Linked DNA regions of Homo sapiens: all the other regions are linked to region 2. Evidence: promoter capture Hi-C in 16 types of primary human blood cells and fetal thymus (Javierre and others, 2016). All regions are on one chromosome and are shown on one strand. Each heading gives the region's core, a stretch centred on a gene start or on the middle of the fragment in contact. The rest is flanking DNA. Distances are from core to core; before and after follow the strand shown.

Region 1 (2,838 bases), core at 226-2,725, 720 kb before region 2:
CATCTGGCAGTGGAACTGAAAGTTGTCAATGCCAAAGCCCTTGGCACACCTCCAGACTCCAGCCAGGGAAGGATATGTAGGTAGGACCGAAACTCTCCACAAGAAAAATAACTTTCTGTGTCTGTTCCAGGTCACAAACAAACAAACAAACAAAATAAAGTTTACACCACACAGCAGTGCTCTGTGGAACCCCTGGGGTGGTGATGGGGAGGTTGGGTTCCACACTGGGCTCCTGACATACCTAGAGCTAGTGCAGCTTTTTTTCATCCATCTCAGTCAGTTCTGCCATCACGTTGATTTTGGAAATGCAAATTTGTTACACAGTAAACAACTTGAGCATATCCCCCAAGAATTTTGGTTTGCTTGTGCGTGATTCTGTCTTCAAGAAACAGTAGGTGAACACCCTGAAAACTGCACCCAGCTGCACCAAGCACACACTTCAAACATCTACCGGCTACCTCCGTTTACTAAGAGTGTTATGCATCACACTCATTCACTTCTGATGCTATAATTTTTGATCCAGTTTCAGATAAGCTTCCTTCTACCACTGCATAATAACTCACCAGCTGCAACTCTTCTGAAGCCACTTCTACAAGCAAAATCCAGGTGTTATTCAAAGCAAAGTAACAAGTTTGTTGTTGTATTAATGTATCGCTTAAATTAAAGGGTATAAATCTGTCTACTGTGTTTATTAGCTTCCTATCTTTTCTTTTTTCAGATGTCACTGATGAAATTTTTTAGCATTGTGCTCCTAGCCCCATTTTTCCTATACATCGTGTGTTGTCTACTGCATGATTTTGGAGTAGCCTGATGATTTTTTAGAAACACATATGTTGTGTTATAGCAGAACTGACTATACTTGGATTTTACATAAAATCTTATTTGAAAAAATGAATTTTGCTAGAATGTAAGTTCCACTCAAAGCTACTATGCTGCCCAACTACAGAGGACACCGCTCACTTCATATTTGATAGGTATCATGTTTACTATTAATTCATCAACGGGAGATTTAACAAAGAGTTATGTAAAGCTTAACATATGTCATGAAAGTATACTGCTCCGAAGAATGTATTTGCCCACTGTGGTAAACTAAAGGCAAACAAAAATATATAAAAAACAAATTATTCATCATCTTCACAGGTAAACATTTTGATATTTTTCCTTTCAGTCTTTTTTCTTCGTACATATAACACCACTATCCCTGCCCTGTGCACAATTTCACTTGACCTACTTATTTTAGCTTGGCTTTAAAATTGACCTGCCACTTCTAAATTAAATATGATTTCTTTTCAGAGACGAAAAGAAGTACTGCCAAATTGACTCAATCATTTAACATTAATTAATTAACATTAATTTAAGATAGTGCATGCTTTCTGCTGAGCACTGTGCTCTGTGACATACAAATTAGAATATTCCATAGTCTGTGCTTAAGCACTAAGAGGACTGATTAAAGTTTCCAAATTTGGCACAGCTGCAACCTTTCTTACCCTTAAGATGAATTACTATTTTCATTCCAGTTCTAAGATTTGTTAAAAATATAAATTGTATAAATAGCACACTCAGAAAAGAAAATGGACTTGTATTATTAGTGTCCTGCAAATTACAGCTTCAAGAATTGCATCCTGCACTTTTTATCTATCACCTTTTCAAATATTATACCACCAAAATTAACTATACAAAACAAAGATGTGTTTGAACATTTTAAGCAGTAAACATACACATTAAAGTGTCATGAAGATTGCCTACTATTTTTCCCTCTTCTTTCTTCCAATAATTATTTTAAGATCTGATTATTTTGTATGTGTGAATATGGATTTAAGGGTTTAATAAATTACATCGAAGATATATGTACTTAAGCCTAGTCTTGAATGTATTCTCATCTACTAAAAGGTGAAATATGTCTGTCATTCCATAAGCTTAATTAAGTTTCTGAACTGGCAACACACAACTAGGAGTAAAAAGCAGTTTAGAGGCCTGGTGTGGTGGCTCACACCCATAATTCCAGCACTTTGGGAGGCCAAGGTGGGTGGGTCCCTTGAGGCCAGGAGTTCAAGACCAGCTTGGCCAACATGGTGAACCCCCATCTCTACTAAAAATGCAAAACTTAGCTGGGCATGGTGGCATGTACCTGTAATCCCAGTTACTCGGAAGGGTGAGGCACGGGAATTGCTTGAACCTAGAAGGCAGAGAGGTTGCAGTGAGCTGAGATCGCAGCACTGCACTCCAGCCTAGGTGACAGAGTGAGATTCTGTTTCAAAAAAAAAAAAAAAAGAGAAAAAAACAGTTTTGTGCTTCATCCTGAATCACCTTTCGATGACATGTTGAGAAATACTGACAAATGATGACAACAGGACAAAATCCAAAGAGGCTGGATAATTCACATATCTAATAATCTGCTCTGAAATCATTGATAATTAATTTTCCTGTCGATCTCTTTTTTTAAAAAAAGCTCTTTGGTAAGTCATTATGGAGGTTAAAGAATGGCAGAAGAGGTGCCAATCTCCACCACATTTTATTCTTCCCTTTCCGAGGTGCCAATCTCCATCACATTTTATTCTTCCCTTTCTCTCATTGAAAGGAGCAATTGTCTTCTTATTCTAACAATGTCTGGATGGTAGCTGAGCCTTCCATCAAGACTCCTGTCCCTTTCAAAGACCTCTGTGTATATGTGACACGATGGATTAAGTGTTCCAGCTCACCCCGGGCAATTAATTTTCTCAAACCTCACAGTGGTTCACCTTATTGTGCCCATAGAAGTGTTCCTGGCACAGCCTTTTGAGAAGGGGTGAAAGCAAACCCCATCACATTTCTACCAAAGAAGATCTCACAGCAGAGGAC
Region 2 (2,922 bases), core at 407-2,906:
AAAAGTATTTAATTTCTTCGTATTCTGTGACCTAGCAATTTCACTTTTTAGAATTTGTTCAATTTACTCTAAAGAAATAAACTTGTGTGTTTATAAACTATTTAGGTATAGGGATATTTATTAAAGAACTATTTGTGCTTGTGAGAATTGAAAACATTCTAAATATCCAACAATTGAGGATTGGTTATACAAATTATGGTACATCCATATAAAGAATCCTAACAGAGGGCAATAAAAAATTATTTAGTAGTAGAGTACACAGTTGCCTAGAAAAAAAGAATCCTGACTTTCTCAGTCAAAAAAACAGATGAGAAAAAATGATAGAGTTTGTATGCCTAAAAGAAAGGACTGGAATGAAAAAACTGAAATGTTAATAGTGGTAGCTTCACAGTGAGGTAAGGGGAAGATTTTGTTCTGTGCCTTTCTATGTTATCCTAACTCTTGTACAATGAATGTATATTTCGGAATAAGAATATATTTACGAGCCAGGCACGGTGGCTCACGCCTGTAATCCCAGAACTTTGGGACACCGAGGCAGGTGGATTGCTTGAACTCAGAAATTCGAGACCAGCCTGAGCAATATGGCAAAACCCTGTCTCTACAAAAAATACAATTAGCTGGGTGTAGTGGTGCATGCCTGTGGTCCCAGCTTGATCCTGGGAGGCAGAGGTTGCAGTGAGCTGAGATCGCAGCACTGCCCTCCAGCCTGGGTGACAGAGCCAGACCCTGTCTTAAATATATATATAATAAAACTTGTATATTATATATTATTGTACCCTTTGTCACACAAATAATGGCATGTAAAACACACTGTTTTGTACTTTGCTATATTGTGTAACCTTGTACACACGTTGTTTCACCCATGTAGGGGTATATCTGTAGGATACACTTCTCAAAGTGGAATTGCTGGGTCAAAGGAAATGGGCATTTGTAATTTGGACAAATGTTGCATATTGCCCCTTCAGGGTTTGAAAACAAAATCTTCTCATAGTTTCTTTTAGTATATTAGTGGTCTGGATTTCTTTTTTAACACTTCACTTTAGAGCCATTTTCATTGATATTGGCTTAATGGATACTTAATAAGAAAAGCAAATAATTTAAAATATTAAACTCACTTATAGTGGAAATCCAAGTGCTGGTTGTCCCCATCTGTTAGATCACAGGATCTAGATGCAAACAGGACATCTTGCAAAGGTTCGGCTTACACAGAGGATGAGTGACATAGCAAGACCTCTGTTCCACTGTGCACCACTTTATTTGCTTCCACACTCACCTTGTAGGGAAGAGGCAGACCCTAAGAGCTTGATTTCTACCTTCAAGTGAATTCTTTACTTCAGAAACAACTCAGGTTGCTGGTTGGATTTCCCTTCTGAAATATTGTAAGTTGCTTTAATATTTAAATAAAAACAAGTGGAATCCCCTGGAGTATTGGGGTATGTATGTATGAGCTGCATGAATTTGTGTATGGCAATATGATGGCATATAGGAAGATAATTAATTTTATTCCTGCAGAGATTCTGTAGTCTCTGCTAGTCTCTGGCAAACATAGCAGCTGTACTGAAATGTCAGATGGATTTGCGCAGCTGACTCAAGTTGCCAAAAAGAGAGCAGCATAGTTGTTCCATAAATTGACCCCATCCAGCCAAGCCCTGCTTAATATAGATCCGGCAAGAGCTTAGCTGTGATCACTCCTAGCTGCTCAGCAAACCACTGAGGTTCCTGGGAAAAAAAAAAAAATATCTCAAGGGTGTGTTAACTTGGGACACTCGTTAACTGGGGGACCTTCTTGAGGCTTTTTTCCTTCTTTTTAAAAATCATCTTTGATTATTCTTCTTTTCTAGTAAAATAATATTTAGAAAAAATAATGTCAGAGCACAGCAGAAATTCAGATCAAGAAGAACTTCTCGATGAGGAGATTAATGAAGATGAAATCTTGGCCAACTTGTCTGCTGAAGAACTGAAAGAACTGCAGTCGGAAATGGAAGTCATGGCCCCTGACCCCAGCCTTCCCGTGGGAATGATTCAGAAAGATCAAACTGACAAGCCACCGACAGGAAACTTCAATCATAAATCTCTTGTTGATTATATGTATTGGGAAAAGGCATCCAGGCGCATGCTGGAAGAGGAACGAGTTCCTGTCACCTTTGTGAAATCCGAGGTAACCAGAGATTTGTGTACAACCGAGAAATGGCTGCCTGGGATGGGCTGTTAGGTCTCTCTGTTGTAACTGTGATTTCTCAAGACTCCAGGGTTTGGTTCTGCTTTGTTTTTGCCATATCTAGATTAAACCATAATATTTAATCCTACTCCGACTGGAACTTTCTGAAACACATTTATATTTACAAGGGGAAAATTGGGTAATTTCTTGCAAATGTCTCTTTTTAAAAATTGCTGTCGGGTTTGCTGTGTCAGAAAGCCTGTGTTCTATTGCCACGATACTTAGTGACTTAACTCATAACCCAGAGGCAGTTGTCCTTACCTCTCTCTTTCTTTTTTATTGCAGGCCCCTTTGAGAAAGTAATGACAGCTCTGTAGCCTCTGTCTCTCTGGCACATCCAAACATACGCAGTGTTTCGCACACAGTGTCAAACATTTCAGTCCTCCTGAAGTCTGGCCACACAACCTGCAATTAAACCAAGTCGAATAACCAGAAAATGTCTTATATTATTACTATGTATTGGCTGTCAGTGATGACATTTAGAAATCGATGGCTATTAAGTGGTTTTGAAGCTAGTTCTTCACTTTCTAAAACCTGAAAGCTAGAATTGTTAACTCTGCAAACTTACTGTGCATGAGCATAATTTTTTTTTTTATGTTCCACTTGAAAATGACTTAACAAAAAGAGGACAGAGATGCCTCCTAGGTAAAGTCTCTTTAGGTTATGCCTGTTTACAAAGATACATCTTGTTAAATTACTCTGAA
Region 3 (2,706 bases), core at 79-2,578, 620 kb before region 2:
GGAAGTTACAGCCGAGTGCAGAAGCCCTGCTGGATGCTTCCAATGATAGCCTTATCCTAGCTCACAGCTTAGAGGGGTGGAAATAAACCCTTCTCAGCTATTCCAGCCTCCATTGACCATGTCCCTTTTAGGAAACATTGTAAACGAGAAGTACGAGGCGTCCAGAGTGGCTGCCGGACAGAGAGAACGGAAGACACCCAATCCATTTCGACAGACAAGTGGGAATGGAGGCAGCAAAAAGGGTGGCTCAAGGGAAGTGGGCACTAGAGGGGATGGGGCATCAGAGCAGTGGATGTCTTCACTCCTCGTCTAAAAAGTTTCTGAAGTCCCCAGCGAATTAAACACGTGTCTCTGCCAAGCGGGGTACACTCCCAGTAACCCCCAAGACCAAGGCTCATTTCCCCTCTGCAGGTAAGGCCTGGATTTGAATGGGACTCTATTTCCAGAGAGTTTAACTTGAACAAGGGGACACGCCCACCGCTGCCCTGGCCCCTCCCGCGCCCGCTAGCAGCGGTCTGGAGGTGAGAGGCGGAGCCCAGAGAAACCTCACCTGCAGGAGCCCAGAGGCTAGTTTCCCCACAGAGACCGGACTCCCAAGAGGTGACTCCAAGCGAACTAATTGCTTCCCTCCAATGTCGCATCTCAGTCCACCCAAAGCTCTCCCTCTCCGAGCCCTCAACCCGCTGGGATCTTCAGAAAGGGGGTTCACTAGAACTCTTTCTCCCCCATCCCACCGGGACAGCGTCCCGGCCCGGCGCTCCTCCTCCCCCACATCGCGCCAGGTCGCTCCCCAGCCCCCAATCAGTCTCAGCAGCTGGCATCCTCGGCCGAGGGTCCCCGCGCCTGGACGCTTCGTCCCCGGCGACCCGCCGCGCCCCCGCGAAGTGCGCTCCATCCGAGCTTCCTAAAGGCGCACTTGGGCCGGGCAGGCGCGGCCCCCAACTGCGAGGGGCAGTTCGCCCTCTGCTCCGGGGCAAGGGCACTGGGTCCTTGTCCCAGAGCTCCCGCGACCCGCTCTCCTCGCCCCAGAGTGGCAGACGCAGTGCCCCCCAGCCGCCCGGTGCGCCTCTGCCCAGCTGTCACCACTCACCTGCTCTTCAGCGGTTGACTTTTGAGTTCGTAATAGGTTTTGGGCTCTTCATGAAACTCCTCCCCGACTTCGAAATCCGGCACGATCCCCGATTCGGACTGCATGGCTCCCGCTTCCCGTCCTTCCACTGCTGGAAAGTGAGAACAGAGCCCGGGGGCGGAGGGAAGGTAGCTGGGCCTGGGTCCCCCGAGCCGTGCGCCCCGGCGCAGTGCCGAGCTCTGCCCGCTCGCCGGCTCGCGGCCGCCCGCCCCAGCGCGGGGAGTTTACACTCGCACCCGGGCGGGAGGGGCTGGCGGCCGAGCGCCGCCTGGGATCTGTAGTTCGGCCCGGGCGGGGCATTCCCAGCTCGCCTGGGGAGCCGCTCCCACGAAAACTACAGCTCCCAGAAGGCCAGGCGGGGGAGAGGCAACGTGGTGGACACCGCTAGTGCAACTCCTGTTTGGATTCATTGTCAATGTCAGCAGCTCCTCTCCCTCCTCTCTCCCCACTTGCTTCAAGGGTACAGACTTGGCTACTTAATATGAATAAGAATGGACACTGACTGCTCTTCTACCATCGCCCCGACCTCTCAGCTCAGACATCTGCGAGGGCACGCCAAGTGCTTATTTTAAAAATAAAATAGTCAAGGGTTTTGGCACAAGAAAGTTTTAGCATTCGAGCCTGTCTTAAAATAAAAGGACTTCCTATCAGCTCGCATGCTTCCCTGGGCTGCTGCGACATATCAGCTTGTCCTCGGATTGGAACAACGAGGAAGAACTTTCCTTCGCTCTGTAATGAAAACGTTATTGGAGAAATTGTTCTTGTGCGTTCCTTTTCTAGAACTAAGTCTGGACTTTTACAATAGTATTCATCAGTTGAATGGCTCTTTCCCCTTTATCCAAGTAGCCACTTCTAATCTACAGCAGCAATTGAAAGATTCGGTTAATTTTAAAAGGCACAAAGTTACAAAATAGCGTCGTTGCTCTCTGCTTTTAATTTCTCAGTTGACTGGGAGTTCAAATGAGATTTGTCCTAGCATTTCAGGAGTGAAGATGTACAAGTGAACTGTACAAGTGTCCACCCCTTCCCGAGCTTCCCGGAACTCACTTAGGGAAGAGAATTTTAAAACTCTCCGTTGTGGCTCATTTGTACTTCTAGTTCTTCCCTCTGATTAGCTCCAGTAGGACGTGTTCCTTCTTTTCAAAAGTGTTTTGAGGCATCAGGGAGGCAGTATAGAGTTACAGTGGCATTTAAAGGTATAAGACTCAGAGTTGAAATCCCCAGTCCTTCTAAGAAGAGCTGTGCAATCCTGAGCATGTCACTTGGTTCCTAGAAGCCTCCATTTCTTCATCCATAAAAGAAGAGATTGGCAAACCAGTTTTAGAAGATGTTGCAAGGTCAAATGTAAGAGAAAGTGATTTGCAATCTATAAAAACTCTGCTCAGTGGTCATTCTTTATTAGGTCTTGAAGTTATTCCTTTCAGATTAACATCTCATTTTGGTGTTTGGCCTTTCAGAATTAATAAACTAAATGACTGTCCTAGGAGAAAATTCTAAAGAGGCTACAGTGACAACTGGGCACCTCCCAGGAGTTACCCCTTTGCATATCTTGCCTCCCACTGAAACATTTTAATTTC
Region 4 (2,999 bases), core at 217-2,716, 530 kb before region 2:
TTACAGTGAGCCAAGATCAGGCCACTGTACTACAGCCTGGGCAACAGAGCGAGACTCCGCCTCAAAAAATAAATAAATAAATAAAAATAAATAAAAAATAAAAAATCCTCTAGAAGATAAGCTTCTGAAAGTAGAGGAAAAAAAATAGCTACTGGTTTTGTTTAAATCTATACATTTTATAGAATCGGTAGTCTTCCAGGTAGGTTTAACTACATATATGGAATAAAATATCAAGATTTAGCTGTGTTTTTGTTCAAAGAGCATGTTTCATTGTAATGTAAAACTCCAAACAAACCAACTGTAAAAAGATATTTTTAATACAAAAAGAAAAATTTGAAGAAAAAAACTGACTGGAAATTAGATGATATTAAAAAATCACTGTTAAATGTTTTCAAGTGTGAATAACAATATTGTGGTTACATGAAGAAAAAAGAGTCATTATCTGTTAGAAACACATGCCGAAATGATATGACACCTGGGATTTATCTTAAAATAATTCAGCAGGGTGGTAGGGAGACTTAGGGGAAAAGGCATAAAAATGAAACAGAAAGAGCTGTGCATTCTTAATTGTTGAATTGGATAATGGAACATAAGTGTTCATCACACTATTCTCTCTACTATTCTGTATGTTCAAAATTTTTCAAAATAAAAATTTGAAAAGGCTGATGTAAACCCCAGAAAGACAGGATTTCCACCTGTCTTGCTCACTCTCATGCCAAGCACAATAAAGAAATATTTGTCGTTTGGAAGTGTTAGAAATATGTTATTCTGTGTTATGTTGTTTTTATCTTAGTTGCTTGTTAGGCAAAAGTTTTAGGTATTGAAACCTCCTGGCAATTATAGCACAAGAGGGAGATCCTCATTGGTGAAGTATTCAAACACAGACAAGAAGACTTGTTGGGTGTTTATGTGAGATTAATGGATTAGGTAAAGATTTGGAGTAGGTTAATGTTCTCTGTCAACTCCAGGGATCTGTTTAACTTAACGTTAGGAAATGTTTCTCTATCTAGATTTATATTTATGTTTTAGCATTCTGAATAGAGCTGAATGGAAAAAATAAAAATTTTTCTCAAGTTGGGAGTCACCTTCCTTTTGCCCTGGATTTTTTTTTTCTTTAGGTTCCACTGTCTGTTTAGATCTGTGAATGCAATCATGGATAATCCCACAAACTCAACATATTACTCCAAGTAATCAGATTTAAGTGAAAGTAAAGGTAAGCACCAAAAGAGTAGGAATCCCAGTGTTGGGATAGGATTTCTCAGGTGTCATGGACAGCTTATTTAGGATTTAAGGCAGTCAGCTGTACCATCAGCAACGGAAACAGATGGATCTCTTGCTGTTATACTGAACTTCCTTCTATGCCCATCATTCCATAGCCTCTGCTAACTCATACCTTTGCTTTCCTCATGACCCCAAATTCTTTATGGCCTTTCTCTGGACATCTTTGTGTTTCTGTTCCTAAAAGTGACTAGCAACACCATCTCTGTATCTTACTATTTCATATCATTTGAATCCCTAGGGATGGGGTGGGGTAGAAAGTAAAAGAAAGAGAATGAAACTTATTAGTAACCATCATATCTGCCTACATCAAACTTTCTTTTTTTTTTTTTTTTAAGATAGGGTCTCACTCTGTTGCCCAGGCTGGAATGCAGTGGCACAATTTCGGCTCAGTGCAACCTCCACCTCCGGGGTTCAAGCGATTCTCCTGCCTCAGCATCCGGAGAAGCTGGGACTACAGTTGCGTCCCACCATGCCCAGCTAATTTTTGTATTTTTGGTAGAGACAGGGTTTCACCATGTTGGTCAGGCTGGTCTCAAACTCCTGACCTCAGGTGATCCACCTACCTCGGCCTCGCAAAGTGCTGGGATTACAGGCATGAGTCACTGCACCTGGCCTTTTTTTTTTTTTTTAAAGAGTTGGGTCTTGCTCTGTTGCCCAGGCTGGAGAGCAGTGGGATGATCATAGGTCACTGCAGCCTTGAACTCCTGGGCTCAAGCATTTCTACCTCAGCCTCCTGAGTAACTGGAATTATAGGCCTGAGCCACAGCACATGGCAATGCATGAGGCTTCACAGTAGCTCACCCCACAGGTTGCCAGCCTGCTATTGGTTGGCTACTCTTAGATGAACTGTCTATTCCCAATCCATGATTGGGATTATCTGGTCAACATGTAGTTTTGAATTCCTGCATAAAGAATATTTAAGGGTAGGGATTCCCTAGAAGGGACAGGTAGTAGGGGAGGCATTCCATCTTGCAAGCCCATTACATGTTGGCAGTGAGAAAGGGGATAGAGAAGGGAGATGACTCAGGGGTCAGTGGCTGAGATAAGGATGTCAGACAGCAAATTATGTTTAACCAGAAGAAGCAAGTGCAGATATTTGGCCACTGAAGAGACACATAAATTGCACTTAAAATCTAATCTTAGATTTGAATCCCAGGTCTATGTCATACTGGCTGTACAATCTTAGAGAACATTATGTGTCTCTTGGGAAAAGTTTTGTCTCTCTGAACCCACAATTTCCTAGCCTTATCAAAAGGGCATACAACTGCCTCATTTGCAGGGTAGGTGAAAGAGTCATATGAGGTTGTCTTAGTCCATTCGCATTATTATAACAAAATGCCAAGGACTGAGGAATTTATTAAGAATCAAAATTTGTTTCTCACAGTTCTAGAGGATGGAAGTACCAGATTGAGGCACTGGCATTGCTGTCTGGTGAGGGTTGCTCTCTGCTTTCAAGATGGCACCTTGATGCTGTGTCCTCAGTGGCCGAAGGCAGAAGAACAAGAGAGGCAAACTCTCTCTAAAGCTTCTTTTATAAGGGCGTTCATGAGGGCTCCACCCTTATGACTCAATCACCTCCTAAAAGGGTCCAACTCTTAATACCACCACAATGGGGATTAAGTTTCAGCATGAATTTTGAAGGGGACACTACATTCAAACCGTAGCAGATGTAATGAATGCAAAGTCCTCAGCATCACACCAGTATGTAATAGGTGCTT

The links. Contacts are between HindIII fragments. The CHiCAGO score rates a contact against its expected background, and 5 or more counts as called.
Region 1: a fragment that was not itself captured here is called in contact with the fragment with the promoter of LMOD3 in region 2 in 1 of 17 cell types (monocytes); the score reaches 5.8 in monocytes.
Region 3: a contact is called between the fragment with the promoter of MITF here and the fragment with the promoter of LMOD3 in region 2, in 3 of 17 cell types (fetal thymus, M1 macrophages and monocytes). The highest score is 6.0, in fetal thymus.
Region 4: a fragment that was not itself captured here is called in contact with the fragment with the promoter of LMOD3 in region 2 in 1 of 17 cell types (endothelial precursors); the score reaches 5.4 in endothelial precursors.

What each region holds. Positions count from the first base shown.
Region 1 is chr3:69,840,189-69,843,026 of GRCh38, reverse strand. All of the region lies in intron 1 of MITF (melanocyte inducing transcription factor), which reads right to left. Among named protein-coding and RNA genes, the nearest start is that of MITF, 100 kb to the right of the region's middle. The HindIII fragment of the contact is 886 bases long and covers 1,033-1,918 here.
Region 2 is chr3:69,121,329-69,124,250 of GRCh38, reverse strand. It overlaps LMOD3 (leiomodin 3), which reads left to right and starts at 1,656. Exons shown (of 3, transcript NM_198271.5): 1 at 1,656-2,158. The coding sequence starts at 1,865. RefSeq lists an enhancer at 1,602-2,801. The HindIII fragment of the contact is 5,880 bases long and covers 1-2,922 here.
Region 3 is chr3:69,738,086-69,740,791 of GRCh38, reverse strand. It overlaps MITF (melanocyte inducing transcription factor), which reads right to left and starts at 1,328. Exons shown (of 10, transcript NM_001354604.2): 1 at 1,091-1,328. The coding sequence starts at 1,194. RefSeq lists a silencer at 1,093-1,392 and a promoter at 1,192-2,706. The HindIII fragment of the contact is 10,451 bases long and covers 1-2,706 here.
Region 4 is chr3:69,652,172-69,655,170 of GRCh38, reverse strand. No RefSeq gene overlaps it. Among named protein-coding and RNA genes, the nearest start is that of MITF, 86 kb to the left of the region's middle. The HindIII fragment of the contact is 2,685 bases long and covers 124-2,808 here.